3 separate regions of the Homo sapiens genome follow, and regions 1 and 2 are each linked to region 3. The links are contacts of gene promoters, found by promoter capture Hi-C in human tissues and cell types (Jung and others, 2019). All regions are on one chromosome and are shown on one strand. Each heading gives the region's core, a stretch centred on a gene start or on the middle of the fragment in contact. The rest is flanking DNA. Distances are from core to core; before and after follow the strand shown. Region 1 overlaps TNRC6B (trinucleotide repeat containing adaptor 6B). Region 2 overlaps TNRC6B (trinucleotide repeat containing adaptor 6B). Region 3 holds the start of ENTHD1 (ENTH domain containing 1).

Region 1 (3,187 bases), core at 285-2,784, 420 kb before region 3:
CCCCCCAGCACACTTCCTGGGGTGACATAGGGGTCAGATTCAGGGTCAATGTTTTGGATACCTTTCCATGGCACTCCTGGTTGGAATTCTGAGACAAGGAAAACAAATATTAGAGAAGGAAGGTCGTTAAAAAAAAATGATATAGTACTTTTTTTGACATAAGAAATGGGTCTGTGAAAAGTATAAATACTGAATTTATTGTCTCTTAGATTTTCATCACAAAATTAAGGAAAAAAAAATCACCATGAACATACTCTTGCCAACAGCACCTTTGTTTTATCACACTGTCTGTGGCAGTCAACTGGAAGCCACAGCTCATCAGAGCCTGTCCCCAGTAACCTGATCCTCCTGCTCCCAGGAGACTTCAGGGCTGAAGGCAGGGAAAGCAGGAGTAAGGACTCTGGTGTTCACAAGAATCATCCCAGCATCTAGGCCAAGAACCGGTGAAAATATGGGCTAGAGATCAGTGCTCTTTCTCATTTTCCTTACGAGATGTTGGCCAAAATGCAAAAAATGTAATACAAATGATACTGCTACACAGAATGTCCAGGGATAACCAGCAGGGATAATTTAGCTTAGCAAAAGAAAGCCTAGAATATACATAAGGGCTCGGAATTTTTTTATTGGTCAATTTAAATCATTTTAAAATTTTAAGGCTATGTGACACAATAAACTTTTATTTTCCAAATCGTGATGAGAAAGAGCAATGTGTATTATATATGAACGATCTGCATTATACAGTTCTACTTTGGCCGGGCGTGGTGGCTCACGCCTGTAATCCCGGCACTTTGGGAGGCCGAGGCGGGCAGATCACCTGAGGTCAGGAGTTTGAGAACAGCCTGTCCAACATGGCGAAACCCTGTCTCTACTAAACATACAAAAAATTAGCCAGGCGTGGTAGCAGGCGCCTGTAATCCCAGGTACTTGGGAGGCTGAGGCAGGAGAATCGCTTGAACCTGGGAGGCAGAGCTTGCAGTGAACCAAGATCGCACCACTGCACTCCAGCCTGGGTAATAAGAGCAAAACTCCCTTTCAAAAAAAAAAAAAAATTCTACCTTAATAAAACGAAACTATACATATTCATGTCACAAATACGCATGCACAGAAAGAGGTCTAGGAGGATATATATTTATGGAATTACTGATTTTAATTTTTGCTTTATTAAATGTTCTCATTTTTCTATCATGAGAATAGATTACTATATCCAACAAAAGGGAGGGACAGAAAGAAAAGAATTAACAAATAATCTCATTGCAATCGCTACTGCATACCTAGAAGCTAACTGGTAATACACACTTGCCTAAGAACTAACAAATCAATTCAACAGACACTTCAAAAGAACCCATGTTACAAGGCATCCTATGCATGGGACGAATGCAAAGTCCCACCTACAATGTCACTTATCCCCAGATTCCCCATCTAATGAAAATTTTCTATCTTCCCACAGCACATGCCTTGCTTCTAACAGACAATTATTGAATGAAAAAAATAAAAGCAAGTACCTTAGTAACATGAATCACAAAAGCAATGTATTCTGAACCTGAAACTGACAATTACAAAACAAATGCTATCCTGGGAAAAGCATTTCCTAGACAATACCTGGAGGCCAACTGGCATTGCTGGATTTACTTCCGATTTTATTTGTTGGTGGAGATTTGGCAGGTAACCAGCTATCACCAGCAGGACCCGTATGGCCACCCAGTGTGTCACCAGGGATGATATCAAACTGGTTGTACGGTGACCCTCCCCGGGTTTTACCAGGGGCCACTATAGCGCCTGAGAAAAGAGAGGAAATTAAATCATCCAGAATAACTCCTATGAATAGAACTTGTCTATTTTTTATTCGCTGGAATGCAAACAGTCTTCTGAAGCTGATGGAGTATATACAAACAGCACTGGAATAAGAGGTTGCATTCGAGACTCAGCACAGAATTACTAAGCAGCATGACCAACAACAAGTCATTTCGCCTCTCTGAGCCTCTCAGTTCCTCACTTAGGCACACAGGATTGTTCTCATGCTTGAATGTTCCTTTCAGTTTTAAAATTCCATGGTCTTATGAAATTAATGAAACGTTCACATACTAGGAATCTGACCATTATCCCTAGTTTCTATGCTAACGACTCAAGAGTGAGAAATGGGGAAAATTCTAACCATTTGTAGCACATAAGAAGGTTTTAACTAAATTTCTACTGATGCTATCCACCCAGGTTCTTAAGGGCTGGCTGATCAGGCTTAGATTAGCTGGAAGCAGCAGTGTAAACAGAGAGTCCATTGGAGGGAAAAGCATCTGCAATTGCTTTAAATTCCAACGCAATGAGATGGAATTCCCGCCTAGGGTCTTTGCCAGCACAAGACCAGCAATGAACTCTGCAGCTCTGGGATCCGTGGCCTCACACATGAAGAACAGCAAATCCTTTGTAACTGGTTTCCTGAGAGCACTTCAGTGGTTTTGTCGCTGCCCCCATCATGCATTTTATATGCTATGGGGCAGGAAAATAATTAAAAGCTTAAAATTACCTTGAACTAACAGAACATGCACTTTGAATAAAATTTTAGGTATCAGTGAGATACCAGTCTACTTATTTCTCAAATGAATTTTACATACTATATTGGGTCACTTGATCTATTCTTAGGATGCTGCTTGTGAAGGGATAAAATTATTTCCAGGGTGATGCAGCCTAATGGGAATATTATCAAAACTACCTCCATACTCAGGCTAAGAGGGCATTTACTTTTCTGGAGCCACTGACAAATCTGGCTCAGAGGCACATTATGGTGAAGCAGTGGAAAATGACAAGCTCAATTACTTTGGGGATTGCTAAGGAAATGGGAAAACATGATCTATAAGCTCTAAAAAGGCAAGTAGAGATTTTGCCTTTGAGATATCCTCTCACATGCCATTTCAGATTTATTATCATGCACCTATCATGTCTTTGGGGACAAGGGGACCTGGTGAATCATCAGCCTAAGGAAGCATTGAAAGTGCCCAAAGCTGTAGATATCAGTGGGCTTAGATTATTCAGTCCACAAACAGATTTTACAATTTCAATAAATCATTTTTGACTTCATGCCATGAAACCAAATGATAATGCTTAGGGATGGCAGGCAGAGAGCTCCACGTGGGCATTTCACCAGCCTCCTGGATGGGCTTATTAAAGAGTGGTTTATAAAGGAAACCTGAAAGGC
Region 2 (3,498 bases), core at 791-3,290, 370 kb before region 3:
TCTAGGCAATTATTTGTTTAAACTCAGAACTCAAATAAAGCATCCTACTGGTGACAACCATCAATTCATTATCTTTGCCAATGCCTAATGGTATTCAAGCTCTGAATTTTAATATCACCCCAAAAGACATTTTAAGTTGAAATCTGTTAATAAACTTTAAAAGATATTTAGAATTTCTTAGCTGTTAGTTGACTTAGTATTCATCTATTAAAAACTCTCACAACTTTTTTTTTTTTTTTTTTAAGACGGAGTCTGGCTCTGTCACCCAGGCTGGAGTGCAATGGCGCGACCTCGGCTCACTGCAAGCTCCGCCTCCTGGGTTGACGCCATTCTCCTGCCTCAGCCTCCCGAGTAGCTGGGACTACAGGAGCCCGCCACCATGCCTGGCTAATTTTTTTATATTTTTAGTAGAGACAGGGTTTCACCATGTTAGCCAGGGTGGTCTCGATCTCCTGACCTGGTGATCCACCCGCCTCGGCCTCCCAAAGTGCTGGGATTACAGGCGTGAGCCACCGTGCCCGGCCAAAAACTCTCAAAACTTCTAGTAGAACCTTTCAGCTAAATATCCCTTATTTCTACATACAGTTTTTAACAAAGCTCAAAATCCAGGGCCCACAAAAAGAAATACTGAGTTTAAAAATCTAATTTAAAAACTATAGTATTATTTTAGAATCCTCCGAAGATTCTATATTGCAATGTAGCAAATCATTTTCTCTATCCTCCTAGCATTCTGGAAACATAACACAGGCATCTAAAGATTCGCCTTCGCACAAGCCCCATGTCCAATTATGCCCTGAACACATATGACGGTGGAACTATGGAGGCTCAAATTTGTAACACTCTAGTCTGAGAAGGAAAAAAGGCCCCCAAAATAATAAGCAACAGCAGTTAAGTTAGCCCTTATGCCAAGAGCACACACTTACGGAACACTAAACCTCAGTTCCAAGAATCACCAATACACATCGCATACTAGGATCCTCTCTCATCTTTTGACTAATCCCAGTGGTTTATATAATGAATGGCTTTCCTGGACTTTACATCAAGCAATGCAAACAAAGTGCTCTCTCTCTGTCAAGCTGCCATGCATTCGATTCACAGGGTGCCTTACCTGGCGCAGTCCCACTCTCACTCTGCAGCAGCGCTCCTGTCACTTGTGCGTTGTTTGGGTTTGCTCCAGGTGCTGTGCAGGGAGGAGGCCCTGCCCCACCCCCAAGGAGCATGCAGGACGGTGGAGGGGGCTGCCCACGTTTTAGTAACACTTTGTGGTCCTGCTGGCAACGGAATCGCGGCGGCACCTCCCGAGGCATGTAGCGGGCGGCGCTTGGCGGTTGTCCGTTCGGCACTGCCACCCTTTTGGCATTGTTGCCACCATTGACTGGTGGCGATGGAGAGCTGCCAATTGGGCTGGCGGCCGTTGGTTGGCTTAAACTTGGTTTCGTCACTTCGGGCACTAAAAGAGAGGGGTTGGGAAACAGTCTTTGAAATACATCAAATACATTTTTTCTAAAAATTTTAAAAATAATTTTATTATTTTATTTAGAGATGGGGTCTTGCCATGTTGCCCATGCTGGTCTTGAACTCGGGCTCAAGGGACTCTCCCACCTTGGCTTTCCAAAGTGCTAGAATTACAAGAGTGAGCCACTGTGCCTGGCCAAGATTATTATTTATTTATTTATTTATTTATTTTTGAGACGGAGTCTCACACTGTCACCCAGTGTGAGTGTCGCCCAGGCTGGAGTGCAGTGGTGCAATCTCCGCTCACTGCAACCTCCGCCTCCCAGGTTCAAGCAATTCTCCTGCCTCAGCCTCCCAAGTAGCTCGGATTACAGGCGCCCACCACCAAAACCAGCTAATTTTTTGTATTTTTAGTACAGACAGGTTTTCACTATGTTGACCAGGCTGGTCTTGAACTCCTGACCTCATGATCCGCCTGCCTTGGCCTCCCAAAGTGTTGAGATTACAGGCATGAGCCACTGCACCCAGCCTATTTTTTATTTTTTTGAGATGAGGTCTTGCTGTATAACTCGGGCTGGAGTGCAGTGATCTTGGCTTGCTGCAACTTCTACCTCCAGGGCTCAAGTGATCCTCCCACCTCAGCCTCTTGAGTAGCTGGGACTACAATGCATACACCACTATGCCCAACTAATTTTTTTTTCCTCCTCTAGAGACAGGGTTTTGCCATGTTGCCTACCTAGACTGGTCTCGAACTCCTGAACTCAAGCTATTTACCCACCTCGGCCTCCCAAAGTGCTGGGATTACAGGTGTGAGCCACCACACCCAGACCCTGGCTAAGATTATTTGTAAGAAAGCTTACATGGTACCAATTCTAACAAAGTAACTTCTCCTTTTACTCTACTCTCAAGGGAAACAGTTTTTCCAAATTCTCCACAATCTCTCCAGTTTGCTGAAGGTAGGATGAAGGTGGCGGCTGACAGTGACAAGAATTTAAACACAGCAAGGTCATGGAATACATTCCATTAATTAAGGCGGAGAGGGAAGCAATCAACATTCACTCCCCTAAATCAACAGTGGAATTAATTCCCTGAAGTGCTGCCTAGAAGAGTTAAATGTCCATGGCAAAGTCCTTGGGAAAGGTTTCAAGCCTCAGTCCAAGGGTCCCTTCCCTTCATCCACATTCTTAAAAGATCTACCCCTGAGTAAACTTTATTGAAGCCCCTGGCCTAGATGGGCTAAACATTCTTCCTAAGTGCTCCTGGAACACATCATCCATCTCTCTCTACCATGAAAATTCTCCATTCAAAAATCCATCTATCTCTACCACCGAAATTCTCCATCTACAAGTCCCATCTCTCTCTATCACAGAAATTCTCCATTTACAAGTCCTTCTCCCTCACCAGGCCATGACTTCCTGAGGGCAAGGACCCATCTTTCATCTTTTCTTTCTTCCTTAGGGCATGGCACAGAGTGGACTCTTACAAGAAACTCCAGGCCTAGAAAATCACAAACTCAGCTTGGTTCTGGTTTCTACAGCTACCTGGACTCAAAGACTTGCACCGCTCTCTGTGTAAATACTAGAAATGTTACAAATCTTTTTGCTTTTCTTTAAAAAAAAAAAAAAGTGTTTCTTCCCAATTCTTTAAAATAGAAATTTCAAAATGTAAATACTTTTTCTGTTTACTTTAAATCATTTGATTTTTTTAAACTTAATTTTAAAAATGGCCCGCACACAGCGTGGGAATGTCGGGGCAACCGTGAAACCGCACTCTGCCGGACCCTCTGGCTCTTCCCGTCGAACATACAGAGAAGGCTCTCTTAGATCTGTACCTCCCTCGCTGCATGCTGCCAGAAGATCACTACCCTCTCCATAAAAATCTACCTGGCAAATAGAGGCTGGAAGTCGTACAGAAATAATCATCAAGCCTGACAGTTCGGATGATTCTGAGGCCCAAATCCCTGCCTCCCAGGGTAACGTCAGGGCCAACTCTGGGGGTAGTACTGCTTTGACTGCTAAAATGATGCGGGGCCAGCATGTTGCT
Region 3 (3,282 bases), core at 579-3,078:
TACATATAAAAAAACTTCATAAACTATACCTCAATGTATAAAATACTTGTAGTTTGTCCCCCACTATTTTATAAAGTCAAAATACCTCAACATAGCATTCAAGGCCCTGAACAATGTTTTCCAGGTCACCTTTTCGATTTCCCTCTGGCTCCCACCCCATTACTCTATATTATAGCCAGTCAAATAATATTCCAAACTCACCAACTTCTTTCATACCTCCTATCATTTTATATTGGATTCACCTATCTACATGTCAGTATCAATAATGTGGGCTATTATTATTATAATTATGACTGAAGTAGTAGGAGATAGAAACAAATGTTGCTTTTGTCTACTAAGTGTTTTGTTATCCTCTGTCTTTTCCCCTCATCCTAGTCAATATTCCATTAAAACACAGGTTCGATTACATTTTTCAATGCCTACTGGATAAAATCACCTTGTAGTATGGATAAGGTTCTTCATGATCCAACTTCCCTCTGTTATTTAACCTTCCTCTGCTGCTCCACTAATAGCCTTTGTGACAGTTGTAGTAACTACAGTACATGTAGTTTTTCCAAGATAATAGGCTGGCTCAGCTTTCATGCCTTTACACATGATGTGTCCTTTGCCTCTTACGTCCTCCTCTACTTTGTCTATCCAGTGAACTCCCTGTCATCCTTTAAGATTCAATTCAGATGTAAACTCTTCTGTGAAACCTGCCCTTAAATACTCAGTGGCAGAATTAGATGATCTCTTCTCTCTTACTATGCCATACATATCTTGTTACAATCTTCTCTGACGGTGCCTGTCACCTCCACTAGCCTGTAAACGTATCCAGCAGAGGGCTGCTTTTTATCTCCGAGTCCTTACTGTCTGGCACAAAGTGGGTGCTCACGGAAAATCAGTTGAATACATCAACAATTACCCGTCAGTGGCACCTGAAGCCATCAGTCACTGGAGCTACCCCATCATTGTCCATCACACACACTGCTCTTCATAGACTACTATTACATTCTCAGTCCTTTGAGGTGGCAATCACGTGCTGGTGGTATTTCTAGTCAGTTGAAATGACAGTAGTAACACACTTTTAAAAATGTATTCATGTGCCATGCTGGTGCGCTGCACCCACTAACTCGTCATCTAGCATTAGGTATATCTCCCAATGCTATCCCTCCCCCCTCCCCCCACCCCACAACAGTCCCCAGAGTGTGATGTTCCCCTTCCTGTGTCCATGTGTTCTCATTGTTCAATTCCCACCTATGAGTGAGAATATGCGGTGTTTGGTTTTTTGTTCTTGCGATAGTTTACTGAGAATGATGATTTCCAATTTCATCCATGTCCTTAAAACTTAAATAATAATAAATAAAAAAAAAGAGATATTATGCTAGAAGTCTGAGTATTTTACTGATTTTCCATTTTAAGAATAAATTATCATGGCAAATTTTAAGTTACATACATTATTTTATTGTCTACTTTTTAAAAACATTATCAGCTTACCTTGGCATTTTTTTTCTTTTTTTAATGTCCGTTTTTACGTTGTGAACATTTAGTAAATTAATTTATACTCATTTTTATTTAATTAAGAAAGCAGCTAAGAATAAATGCTAGTGTCTGATTAAACTATTTCCCAGATCTCAAAAAAAAAAAAAAATTTATTCTTTGAAAGGAGGATTAGGGCAGTGTCACAGCCCGGCAGCCTGTGAAACGAAGACACTTACCTTCATTCCCCTTGGTACCCTCCAGCTCAGGTATCTGCAACCATCTTGCTTGACGCCCTGACAGGAACTGCACCAGGCCAGAAAGTGAGGAAGCGGAAGTGGGGACCGGCCTGGGCCCTTGAGCCTGGCTGGAGTAGGTGGAATATCCTGGGGAGAGGAAGTTTGGTCGTTGGGCAGCGGCCGACTTTCCTCTCAGGTAACAGCCTCTGCTTGGGAGTGGTGGTGGGGCTCAAGGCGGGTCTGGAAACATCGGTTGCCTTCCCTCCTCCCGTTTCTTGCCGGCACCGTCGGAGTCCAGGTGGGGGCGGGAGGGCGGCGAGGCCATTACCATCCGCAGGAGGTGAAATCCCTGTGGCGTGACGTGACGCCATCACGTCCCTCTCTCCTTCTAGAGGCTTTCCTGAGGTCCAGCCTTCCCCTCCACTGCCGGTTCTCCTAGGGTAATTGCTGGTCTGATTCTCTGTGTGGCCGAACGCCCAGCACCTGGCTCATCTGGTACACAGTCGTCATCTGAAGTGGGGGTTGTATGAATGAAGACGAGGATGCCGAGGAAAGGCCCTGCCCACAGAAAGTTGATTCTTGCTCAGCCTCCACCCGCCATTTTCAAAATTCTTTCCAAAGCATCTCGTTTCTTCCTCCCCCACGGCCCTGTCTGGCGATTATTCTTTGTGTTGCGGATGAGGGAACTGAGACTTAGAGAAGTTGTTAAGTCTTAGTTAGGAAATGGCAAAGCAGGACCTCAAATCATGGCTTTGAATCCTAATTAAAGGAGAGAGATGAGGCATGTGAAGGCCCAGGTGTGAGCACATTGTGAGCGTTCAATGAAGAGTAGCTGTTTACTCCAGGGTGTGAGGACTGTGTCTTGTGCACCTGTTTCTCCATTTCCTAGAATGGAGCCTGCCACATGGTAAGCTCTGGAAGATTATTAGTTGAATAAATTAATGAACACACACTTAGGGCTGGAAAAGATTAGATTCTCTGCCTCTGACAGTATTCTTTTCATCAAAACAGTAACACCTCCTAATGGCATGGTAGTCTCTATAACCATTTTCCCGTAGCATTCTTGGCCAGAGCTCATTTCCTTACGAGTCAAACTCATGTCTATAGGCAGAACCTGTACAAACACAAGAGCTGTTCTTTTCTCATAGTTCCACCTTAAATGCATCTTTTCAGAGATAGCTCTGGACACTCAGCCTCTTAGATGCTATTGTCATTATTGTCCCAAGTCTTTGGATAAAGTCAGTTCAGCTCCTCTGTTCCTTATTCTCAATCCTGAAATCCAAAAACTTTTGGAAATCAACTTTTCCTCCAACTCATTTGGTGGTAAAACTTGGCCTGAGGCCATTTGTAGTCTTTATTCCAAATATTTACATGTTTTTATTGCAGACATGTTAATGTGTTTAATTGTTCAGAGCAGCTCCACACCTTACTGTGGGTATCATGTAATATATGGTATAGACATGGCACTACTCTTGAAAATTCCACCCCTACCACCGCACCCAAAAGAGAATTTCCACAAATCATCTGGCCTCAAAGGATTGGGATAAAAGATCGTGGACCAATAGTTTAATGCCAGCTGATAAAT

Evidence for each region. Contacts are between HindIII fragments. The study calls those that stand out against the background at their distance.
Region 1: a contact is called between a fragment that was not itself captured here and the fragment with the promoter of ENTHD1 in region 3, in 1 of the 25 tissues and cell types used here (stomach).
Region 2: a fragment that was not itself captured here is called in contact with the fragment with the promoter of ENTHD1 in region 3 in 2 of the 25 tissues and cell types used here (mesenchymal stem cells and mesendoderm cells).

What each region holds. Positions count from the first base shown.
Region 1 is chr22:40,309,406-40,312,592 of GRCh38, reverse strand. It overlaps TNRC6B (trinucleotide repeat containing adaptor 6B), which reads right to left. Exons shown (of 23, transcript NM_001162501.2): 17 at 1,600-1,776; 18 at 1-88. Among named protein-coding and RNA genes, the nearest start is that of ADSL, 36 kb to the left of the region's middle. The HindIII fragment of the contact is 7,129 bases long and covers 1-3,187 here.
Region 2 is chr22:40,259,784-40,263,281 of GRCh38, reverse strand. TNRC6B (trinucleotide repeat containing adaptor 6B) reads right to left here. Exons shown (of 23, transcript NM_001162501.2): 4 at 1,109-1,450. LOC124905121 (a long non-coding RNA gene) reads left to right here. Exons shown (of 2, transcript XR_007068107.1): 2 at 2,914-3,498. Among named protein-coding and RNA genes, the nearest start is that of TNRC6B, 84 kb to the right of the region's middle. The HindIII fragment of the contact is 8,779 bases long and covers 1-3,498 here.
Region 3 is chr22:39,892,306-39,895,587 of GRCh38, reverse strand. It overlaps ENTHD1 (ENTH domain containing 1), which reads left to right and starts at 1,828. Exons shown (of 7, transcript NM_152512.4): 1 at 1,828-1,893. It also overlaps a transcript of GRAP2 not described here. The HindIII fragment of the contact is 22,421 bases long and covers 1-3,282 here.